Linked DNA regions of Homo sapiens: regions 1 and 2 are each linked to region 3. The links are contacts of gene promoters, found by promoter capture Hi-C in human tissues and cell types (Jung and others, 2019). All regions are on one chromosome and are shown on one strand. The core of a region is centred on a gene start or on the middle of the fragment in contact, and the rest is flanking DNA. Distances in the headings are between cores, read along the strand shown.

The links. The method cuts DNA at HindIII sites, captures the fragments that hold promoters and counts their contacts. A contact is called where the count stands out against the background at its distance.
Region 1: a contact is called between a fragment that was not itself captured here and the fragment with the promoter of ARFRP1 in region 3, in 1 of the 25 tissues and cell types used here (dorsolateral prefrontal cortex).
Region 2: a fragment that was not itself captured here is called in contact with the fragment with the promoter of ARFRP1 in region 3 in 2 of the 25 tissues and cell types used here (IMR-90 fibroblasts and heart right ventricle).

Annotation. Positions count from the first base shown.
Region 1 is chr20:63,932,960-63,935,758 of GRCh38, reverse strand. It overlaps DNAJC5 (DnaJ heat shock protein family (Hsp40) member C5), which reads right to left. Exons shown (of 5, transcript NM_025219.3): 5 at 1-2,799. Among named protein-coding and RNA genes, the nearest start is that of MIR1914, 7.2 kb to the left of the region's middle. The HindIII fragment of the contact is 5,774 bases long and covers 1-2,799 here.
Region 2 is chr20:63,913,316-63,916,291 of GRCh38, reverse strand. All of the region lies in intron 1 of DNAJC5 (DnaJ heat shock protein family (Hsp40) member C5), which reads right to left. Among named protein-coding and RNA genes, the nearest start is that of MIR941-1, 4.6 kb to the left of the region's middle. The HindIII fragment of the contact is 7,543 bases long and covers 1-2,976 here.
Region 3 is chr20:63,706,525-63,709,319 of GRCh38, reverse strand. It overlaps ARFRP1 (ARF related protein 1), which reads left to right and starts at 1,344. Exons shown (of 8, transcript NM_001267547.3): 1 at 1,344-1,453; 2 at 2,223-2,321; 3 at 2,582-2,669. The coding sequence starts at 2,229. ZGPAT (zinc finger CCCH-type and G-patch domain containing) reads right to left here and starts at 1,281. Exons shown (of 7, transcript NM_181485.3): 1 at 1,202-1,281; 2 at 156-767. The coding sequence starts at 739. RefSeq lists silencers at 1,009-1,168, 1,209-1,268, 1,689-1,928, 2,019-2,068 and enhancers at 396-1,356, 2,219-2,278. The HindIII fragment of the contact is 11,218 bases long and covers 1-1,893 here.

The DNA.
Region 1 (2,799 bases), core at 91-2,590, 230 kb before region 3:
CACCTGGCTTGAAACATTTTCCCCATTTTCCAGGGAAACAAACTCTACCAAAAGGTGCCGCCTGCAGGACCCCGGGCCCAGCCCCTTCTGGAGGTGGTGCTGTGTGGACTCCTCTGGGGCGGACCCGGGGCCAGCACAGGGCCCCTTCCCAGGCCGCCCTTCAGATGCAGCTTTGCCACTGACCGTATCTGCTGCTCAGAAAATCAGCTTTCATGTTTCAAGGCAGGGAAGGGCTTCCAGTCCCCTCCTCGATTTCACACCGGGACACACACCTGGGTCAGGTGAGCATGACACACAGCCCCCAGGATGGGCACCCCACCCTGCAGAGCAGAGGCCAATGCTGGTGGGGGCCGTGGCAGTGCCCTGGGCACACACCCTCTGCACACAGTGGGCTCAGCGCTTCCTTCTGTGCACCTGCTGGGAAAGCCTCCTGCAGGTCCCTGCCCGACTCCCAAGAAACCAGAGGCCATTTCAGAGCCACCTTTAATTGTACTTGTCACTTCACCAGGGGACAGCAGCATGAATGACACTCCTGCTGCGTGATATATACATATACACATATGTACACACACGGACACACCACAGCCCACACTCACAGCATGTGACGACGCAAACTGTTGCTGGTAAGGACAGTAAAAATGTAGCTTTTGCCAATTCCACAGGAGAATGATTTACAACCAAAATAACAGACACAGGCCAGTCCTGCGCCACAGGGGTTCACAGCTCTGAATACTGGGAAAGGGTGAGATCAGTCATTTCGTGTCCCCTCACGAGATGTCCCCACAGTAGGATGCACTGAGTCAGAGCTAAGGGAGGGTGGACAAGCGCTGAACTCTGCCCGCAGCACCCGGACCCTCCAGTGGCAGCCTGCATGCTGGTGCCCTTCCTTGCAGCACAAGCCTCGCCCGGAACAGAACGCCTGAGAGCAGCCTCGACGGCGTGAGGCTCCAGGGCCTCTTCTGGATGGCAGCAGCCGACGTGAAGACGAAGCTTTTCCTGCTGGGCACGTGTGCATGCCAGTTCCTTTTTCTAGTAGGTCCCCACTGGGTGCTGGCTGCACTAACAACATAGAGAACTAGGAAAGTTCACAAACACTGAGCAGTAATATCTAAAGCAGTTTAAAAATAAAGCCAAAAGGAAGACAAAAAAATCCCACGTCACTGAGTGGAGACAAATCTATACAGCAGCAGCTGCCGTGAAAGGGCCCGCAGGGCCGCTCCTACGCCTCCTGCAGGTCGGAAGCAGTCAGTGCTGCCCGGACCCCCTCGTGAACCGGACGGGCCTCAAAGCACGACCCCAGAGGGCCCCTGGCAGCCCCCAGCAGCGGCGTCCAAAGGGACATTCTGTGCCCATGGCCACACTTGCTCACAGCATTGTCTGCGGCCCGAGAGTGAGGAGTCGGGGTCCCGTCACTGCCACCAGCAAAAGCAGGCAGGGGTGCTGGGGGCGTCCTGATCTGTTAGCACGTGGACAGGGAGGCGCGGAAGCTGCCCCAGGACTCACCACCTCTTTTAATTATAGGGAAACAGTCCACTCAAGAAAGAGAGAAATAAAACCCGGGAGGATCTTTTTCCTTAAATTAAGACAAAGCCTTAAAGCCAACAGGGCAGAGCGCTGAAAACGGTTCTGCTTCTAGGTCAGGCAGGGGGAGGAACTCCAGGCCCCGAGTGTCTGGGCTTCCCGGGGGTCGTCTAATCACAATCACCACCGTGAGAATGGCCACAACCATGATTTATTAGGTTTTACAGATTCTGCAGGGGACTGGGTTCCACAAACCTCCAGACCTGCTCCTCTTTCCCACCCTACCCCACCTTCCGCAGGGAGCTGCATGGTTCTACAAAATGGTCCACTGGACTCTGTAACTGAAAAGCCACCTGGCAAGGGGCCCACTCTGATGGGTACCGAAGGGCCTTGGAGTGTTCTAGCCACAGAGCTGTGTGCAGGCCCAACAGAGGGCCTGGTGGGGCTGAGCTAGGGCCCCCGATGGGCAGCTTTCTACCTTAGGTCCAAGCTTAGAACCTGGCTCTTGGCCAGTCTGCGGAAAAATAACTCACGTCCTAAGCTACATCTACAAAAATTGCAAAGGCTGAGTACAGCCAGCATCTCAGGCTGAACTTGCTGCTGCACGAAGCGGCACGGAGGCACCCCACTGTCTCGCCACCTCACCTTTCAGGATGGGCCAAACAATGAATTTCTTATTCTTTTAGGAGAGGTCTGATTTTGATAAATTATTTCTAATTTAATATCACAGTGCATATCTCTCCTCTTGTCAAAGGTCTTCGTGATCATTTTAGTGAGAAGAAACAAAGAAAAGTGGGACAAACAAAGCTGCCCAGGACCTAGTGCTGGCAGCCGGCTCATGGTCCACATGCGGATCTGCAGTAGGGGTCAGCTGGGGGCCCTCAACCAGCACCCTGTTCCTAAGCACGTCCAGATGTATCCTCATATCCATGTCCCTTTTGGCAGCTTCCTGGTCAACCTGAACCTACCCTTCTGCACAGCCTCGGGTGGCTGCTGAGGGCAATGAGTGAGCTGGGGCCACGGGTCAGCAGGCAGGCAGGGAAGGGGGCTTCAGGAGGCTCATCTGGTTGGTCCGAGCCAGAGCCATCACACACAGCCTCCTCCTCAGCTTTATCTCTACAGGGACCTCTGCAACTCTGCAGCGGCCACCATGGACATTCTGCAGAAACCAGGCCCACTGGAGTCTGCAGCATGGCGCCAAAGGCAGGCCCAGCACATCCCATGAGCTACGGAGTGCGGGCAGCTCTGAGCCCTCAGCCAGCACAGGGACATCAGACC
Region 2 (2,976 bases), core at 476-2,975, 210 kb before region 3:
TAGAAAGAACCTACATTGAAATATTGGGGGCGGGTTCCCCCGATAACCAGGCATGATGGCTCATGCCCGGAATCCTAGCACTTTTGGAGGCTGAGGAATGCAGATTGCTTGAGGCCAGGAGTTTGAGACCAGCCTGACCAACACGGCAAAACCCCATCTCTACTAAAAATACAAAAATTAGCCAGGCATAATTAGCCAGGCATGGTGGTGCACGCCTGTAATCCCAGCTACTTGGGAGGCTGAGGCAGGAAAATCGCTTGAACCCAGGAGGCAGAGGTTGCAGTGAGCCGAGATCGCACCACTGCCCTCCAGTCTGAGTGACAAAGCGAGACTCTGCCTCAAAATATTAATAATAATGACATGGGTTTGTATTTTATGTTCTGTGATTTCCTTTACTAGCTAGTCACTTTTGTTGTAGTTTACAAAAATATCATCAGTCTGTGACACTGGAAATTTTAAAAACTTAAACCTTGTCCTTCAGCACAAACAGTCGAGGAAGAATTCTTCTGGTGTATACCTAAGAGTGGAACTTCTGGGTGCCCAAGAATGGGCAGGCTCAGCCTGAGGCGGTGTGCCAACTGCTCTCTGAGGACTGCACCAGTGGCCACTGGAACTTAGGGCTCCCTGCCATTCCTGCAGCCTCAACAATGACTGGTACGGCCAGGCTCCCCAGTGCTTGCCTGGCCTGATAAGGGTAGGCGTCTCCAGCCTACCTTCAAGGCCGTTCTGTCTGTGGTGCCCAGTGGACATATCCAGGACACCGACCCTTCACTGGTTAAAAATGTTACAAGTATCTTCCAGTTCACAGTTCTTTTTTTACTTATTATGGTGTGTCTTTTGATGAGCACAAGCTTTTTTTTTTTTTTTTACCAATTGTAGTAAAAAACATATAACATTAAATTCAGCATCTGAACCGTTTAAATGCCCCAGTGTTCACTACACGCCCGTCGCTGAACAACAGCCCTCCTCCAAGTCACCTTTGAGGTCACAGAATATATTACAGCTTTCTGAATCTCTCAATCTGTTTTTCCCCTTTTTTGTTCAAGAAATCCTTCCTGACCCTAAGGTCCTATTCTATCTTCTGACACTTGTCACCCACAGGAATCTGCTTCATCAGGAGTTGGCCTGGGCTTGGCAAGAGATACGGACCAGCTCCTATCTGCCTGAGGCCCACCCAGTGCCCCAGGTCCCAGGAGCATCCATGGAGCAGCCCGTCTCTCCCTGGGACCCACAGGTGCCTCTGGCTTACTGCAAACCTCCACGCAGGAGGCCTATCAGGGGCTCTCCATTTTGCTCCATTTTGAGCGTTCTTTATTTAAAAACCTCTGAAATTATCTGAGGCCATTTCCAAAACTTTTACAAAAGCTACACACTCTGGCCGGGCGTGGTGGTTCACACCTGTAATCCCAACATTTTGGTAGGCCGAGGAGGGCAGATCACCTGAGGTCAGGAGTTTGAGACCAGCCTGGGCAACACAGTGAAACCCCATCTCTGCTAAAAATACAGAAATTAGCAGGGCGTGGTGGCAGGTGCCTGTAATCCCAGCTACTCAGCAGGCTGAAGCAGAAGAATCGTTTGAACTAGGGAGGTGGAGGCTGCAGTGAGCCAAGATCACGCCACCACACTCCAGCCTGGGCGACAGAGCGAGACTCCATCTACCAAAAAAAAAAAAAAAGGCCGGGCACGGTGGTTCATGCCTGTAATCCCAGCACTTTGGGAGGCCGAGGCGGGTGGATCACGAGGTCAGGAGATCGAGACCATCCTGGGTAACGTCGTGAAACCCCGTCTCTACAAAAAATACCAAAAAAAATTAGCCAGGTATGGTGGTAGGCGCCTGTAGTCCCAGCGACTCGGAAGACTGAGGCGGGAGAATCGCGTGAACCCAGGAGGGGGAGCTTGCAGTGAGCGGAGATCGCGCCACTACACTCCAGCCTGGGCAACAGAGCAAGACTCCGTCTCAAAAAAGCTAAAAATTCTTTGGCATTTCTAACCACATCATAGATAATAGTACTTAAAATAATATTTCAACATAAGCATTCCATTATGAAGCCCAGAAGGGTTTTAACAACAATTACAAGGTAAACCCTGTGGGTCACAGCACCTCCACGGTTCTGAGTTCTGGGCTGTAAGGACTGAAGTCTGGGCGCCACTTTCACCAAGAGACAGAAGCAGGCGTCAGGGCTGCTCTAAGGTACTCGGCCAACGGTGAGCGTCCCGGCTTCTCACTACTGCCTCGCTCTCTCCCCAGCCTCCTGTGGTCCCCCCAAGATGGTGGCTGGGCAGGTGGCCTCAAGAGACACTGCCTGAGGGGTGGGAGGATGGAGTGCTCAGAGAGAGACATTCCAGGCCACAAAGATCACACATCCTGCAATGGACGGTCTGAATATACAGATGCTAAGAAGGTGGCTGTTAGGGCCTGGCGCGGTGGCTCACGCCTGCAATCCCAGCACTTTGGGAGGCCAAGGTGGGCGGATCCCCTGAGGTCAGGAGTTTGAGACCAGGTGGTCAACATGGTGAAACCCTATCTGTACTAAAAATACAAAATTAGCTGGGCGTGGTCGTAGGTGCCCGCAATCCCTACTGTAAGCTACTTGGGAGGCTGAGGCAGGAGAATCACTTGAACCCAGGAGGTGGAGGTTGCAGTGAGCCAAGATGGCACCACTGCACTCCAGCTTGGGCAACAAAGAGACCCTGTCTCAACAATAAATAAAAAATAAAAATACAAAAATCAGCCAGGTATGGTAGTGCACGCCTATAGTCCCAGCTACTCAGAAGACTGAGGCGGGAGAATCACTTGAACCCAGGAGGCAGAGGCTGCAGTGAGCTGAGACCGCACCACTGCACTCCAGCCTGGGCAACAGAGCGAGACTCTGTCTCACTAAAAAAAAAAAAAGAAAGAAAAAAAACAGGCTGTTAGGAACCCTGGACCCTGGGGCAAGGGGAACAACTCTAGAAAGAACAGATGACGTCTGAGGA
Region 3 (2,795 bases), core at 95-2,594:
CGTAGACGCCTGAACACAGACACAGCTGTCAAAGCACGCCTGCCCCAGGAAGCTGAGACAAAACTGCAAAGCAAAGGGAGGGCCGATCCTGACCCGACCCTGTGTGCGTGCCCCTTACGCCCCTAAGGTTGGCATCTGACAACAAAGGGCTTTACCTGCAGTTCTCCTTAAAGCGGCACTTTCCCTCCAGGAAGAACGGGCACGGCTTCAGAGACTTGTGAGTGGGGTACAGGTAAAGCACACGGACACCCGCCGAGCCATCCTCCGCCTCTTCCGTTCCCACCACCATGGCGTTGTGATACTCCAGAGTGCCCCAGGAGCTGTAGTAGGGCGCGCTCACCTTTGTCCCACTCAGCTCTTCCTCGTCCTCTCCCTCTTCCTCCTCCTGCCCACCTGCCGCAGATTCTGGCCCCGCCTCTGCTTTAGGAACGGTCTCTGATCCGGACCCACGGGCCGCTGCTGGTGCCTCCACCGCCTCAGTGATGGCCTCCCGGAAAGCCTGGTACTCAGCATCTTCCTGGCGGCCCGGGCGCTCTTCGTCCAGCGCGGCCAACAAGCTGCTCTTCCTGACAGACACCAGGCTGGCCTCGGTGAGCTCGATGAGCTCCTTCAGGTCCCCCTGCAGCTGGCGCAGGTCAGCCTGCTCAGACGAATCCAGGCCGGCGCCCAAGGCCAGCTCCACCTGCTGCAGCTGCGCACGGTAGGTCTGCAAGGCCGACTCCAGGCTCTCCTCGTCCATGCTGAGAGAGGGAGGCGCTGGACCAGGGCTGCAAGAAGAGAAGCCAGCTGAGCCCCGCGTCTCGGGACCGACCCCACAGCCTGAGGGCGGGCACGGGCACGGGCACGTCCCCTTTCCCTCGGGGAGACACCGGCTCAGAGGCACAGCTCCCAGCGCAGAGGTCGCAGCCCGGGTACCCCCGCTCAGGCTCCGCGCTTCCCTTCCGAGCCGCCGTGGGCTCGCCGCTAGCCGGGTCCCGCGTCACTCCGGAGCCCCTTCCCCGCGGGGCGCCCCGCCGCCTCACCCTCCGCCGAGCCCACCCGCCGCGCCCGCCGCCTTCCAGGCCGGCCGCGCCCCCCCGCCCGGCGTCTCTTCTGTCTGGCCAGGGCCGCGTCCCCGCAAACCGCGGCCACCTGGTCCCCGGCCGGGCACCTCCTCCGCGCGGTTTCCCAGCCGCAGCCACAGAGAGCCCGCCGGCCTCACCGGCTAGAGCGGCCCGGCGCCCCCTTTTCGCCCCAGCAGCCGATCGGCACTTCCTCCCGAGCGCCGCCGCTTCCGGAAGTGCTTGGCGCGCGGGGGCAGCCGGGAAGCGGAGCGCGGAGGCCGCTGGGACGCGGTTCAGCTCATTCCCTGAGGCCGGCCCGCGTCCCGTCAGGCGCCGCGCGGGGTTAGCGCGGGGTCAGCGGAGGTCAGCGGGGGTCAGCAGCAGCGGCTCCGAGGGCGCGGCGGACGCAGGTAGGCCGCAGGCTGTGCGGTGAGGCGCGAGGCCCGAGGGGCGGCCCAGGACTCGAGGTGGGACGCGGGTGTGACAGGAGCCAGCTTTGGCTGCTTGTCGGGGAGCCTCAGACCTGGCGGCGGCGGCTTGGGGCGGACGTAGCCGGGGGCCGCGACCCAGGTTCTTCCTTCGCAGTCGTTCCCTGCCAGCCGCGCGCCGCCTCCAGGTGCACTCCAGGAGCAGCCGCGCCGCTGCTCACCCGCCCTGTAGTCCGCTCCCCCCAGGGCCGTCCCCGTTTTAAGAAATGGGGTGATGGGGCGTCCCTACCCGGCGCCTGCAGGGGCTCCTGGGGAGCGCGCCGGTGGCTCGCTGCTCCCGGGTGGGGCGCGGGGCTGGCGCTCGAGGGTGCCGTGGCCCAGGCGGGGCTGCAGCGAGTGTGTTCCCCGTTCCGCGCGCGTGAAGCGTGGGAGCGAAGCCTCGGGGGAGGGCGGGAGCGCGGCTGAGCTCACTGTGAACACCCGGCTGGGTAGTCCCGCGAGCAGGGGAGGGGCCGGAACCGATGTGTATGCGGAGAGGTCGCAGTCATTGCTGTGAGCAGGACACAGTGGCGGCTGACCTGGGAGAAGTTACAGAGGGACGGGGTGGGAGAGGGACGAGGAGTCGGGAATGGCCCCCAGGCTCTCGTCCTGAGCGGTCGGCTGGACGTGGGGCGCCACTGACCACCGTGGAGAAGCCCGGGGGAGGGGAGGTGCTTTCTGGCTGCACACTGACCTATGTTGGGGTGCCCAGGGCAGGATGTACACGCTGCTGTCGGGCTTGTACAAGTACATGTTTCAGAAGGACGAGTACTGCATCCTGATCCTGGGCCTGGACAATGCTGGGAAGACGGTGAGTGCCCACGCCCTTGCGCGCACCTTTCCCACGGCCTGGCGGCGCCCCCTTCGGTTTTGTGCTGTCAGCTGCACGTTCACTACCCAGACGGAAGCCAAATTTCACCTGAGACGGCAGGATAGTCACCACCAGCCTCCTGAAGAGCAGAGTGTTGCTCTGTTTCTGTTTCTGTCTTTTAAAGAACAGACCTGAGTAAGGATATTTGGAAGCCAGTATAGCCCCTCCTTGATGTGTTTCGCCTCTGCCTCTCTCCTCAGACCTTCCTGGAGCAGTCGAAAACCCGATTTAACAAGAACTACAAGGGGATGAGTCTATCCAAAATCACCACCACCGTGGGCCTAAACAGTAAGGGTCTCAATAGCAGGCTGTGGGTTTGGGGCCTTGAGGATGCCGTGATATTCACAGTCCAGCTGGCCCGTGGCCACAGCCCTGTCGGGCCCCTCTCAAGTCTCATTTGAGTGGCACCAGCAT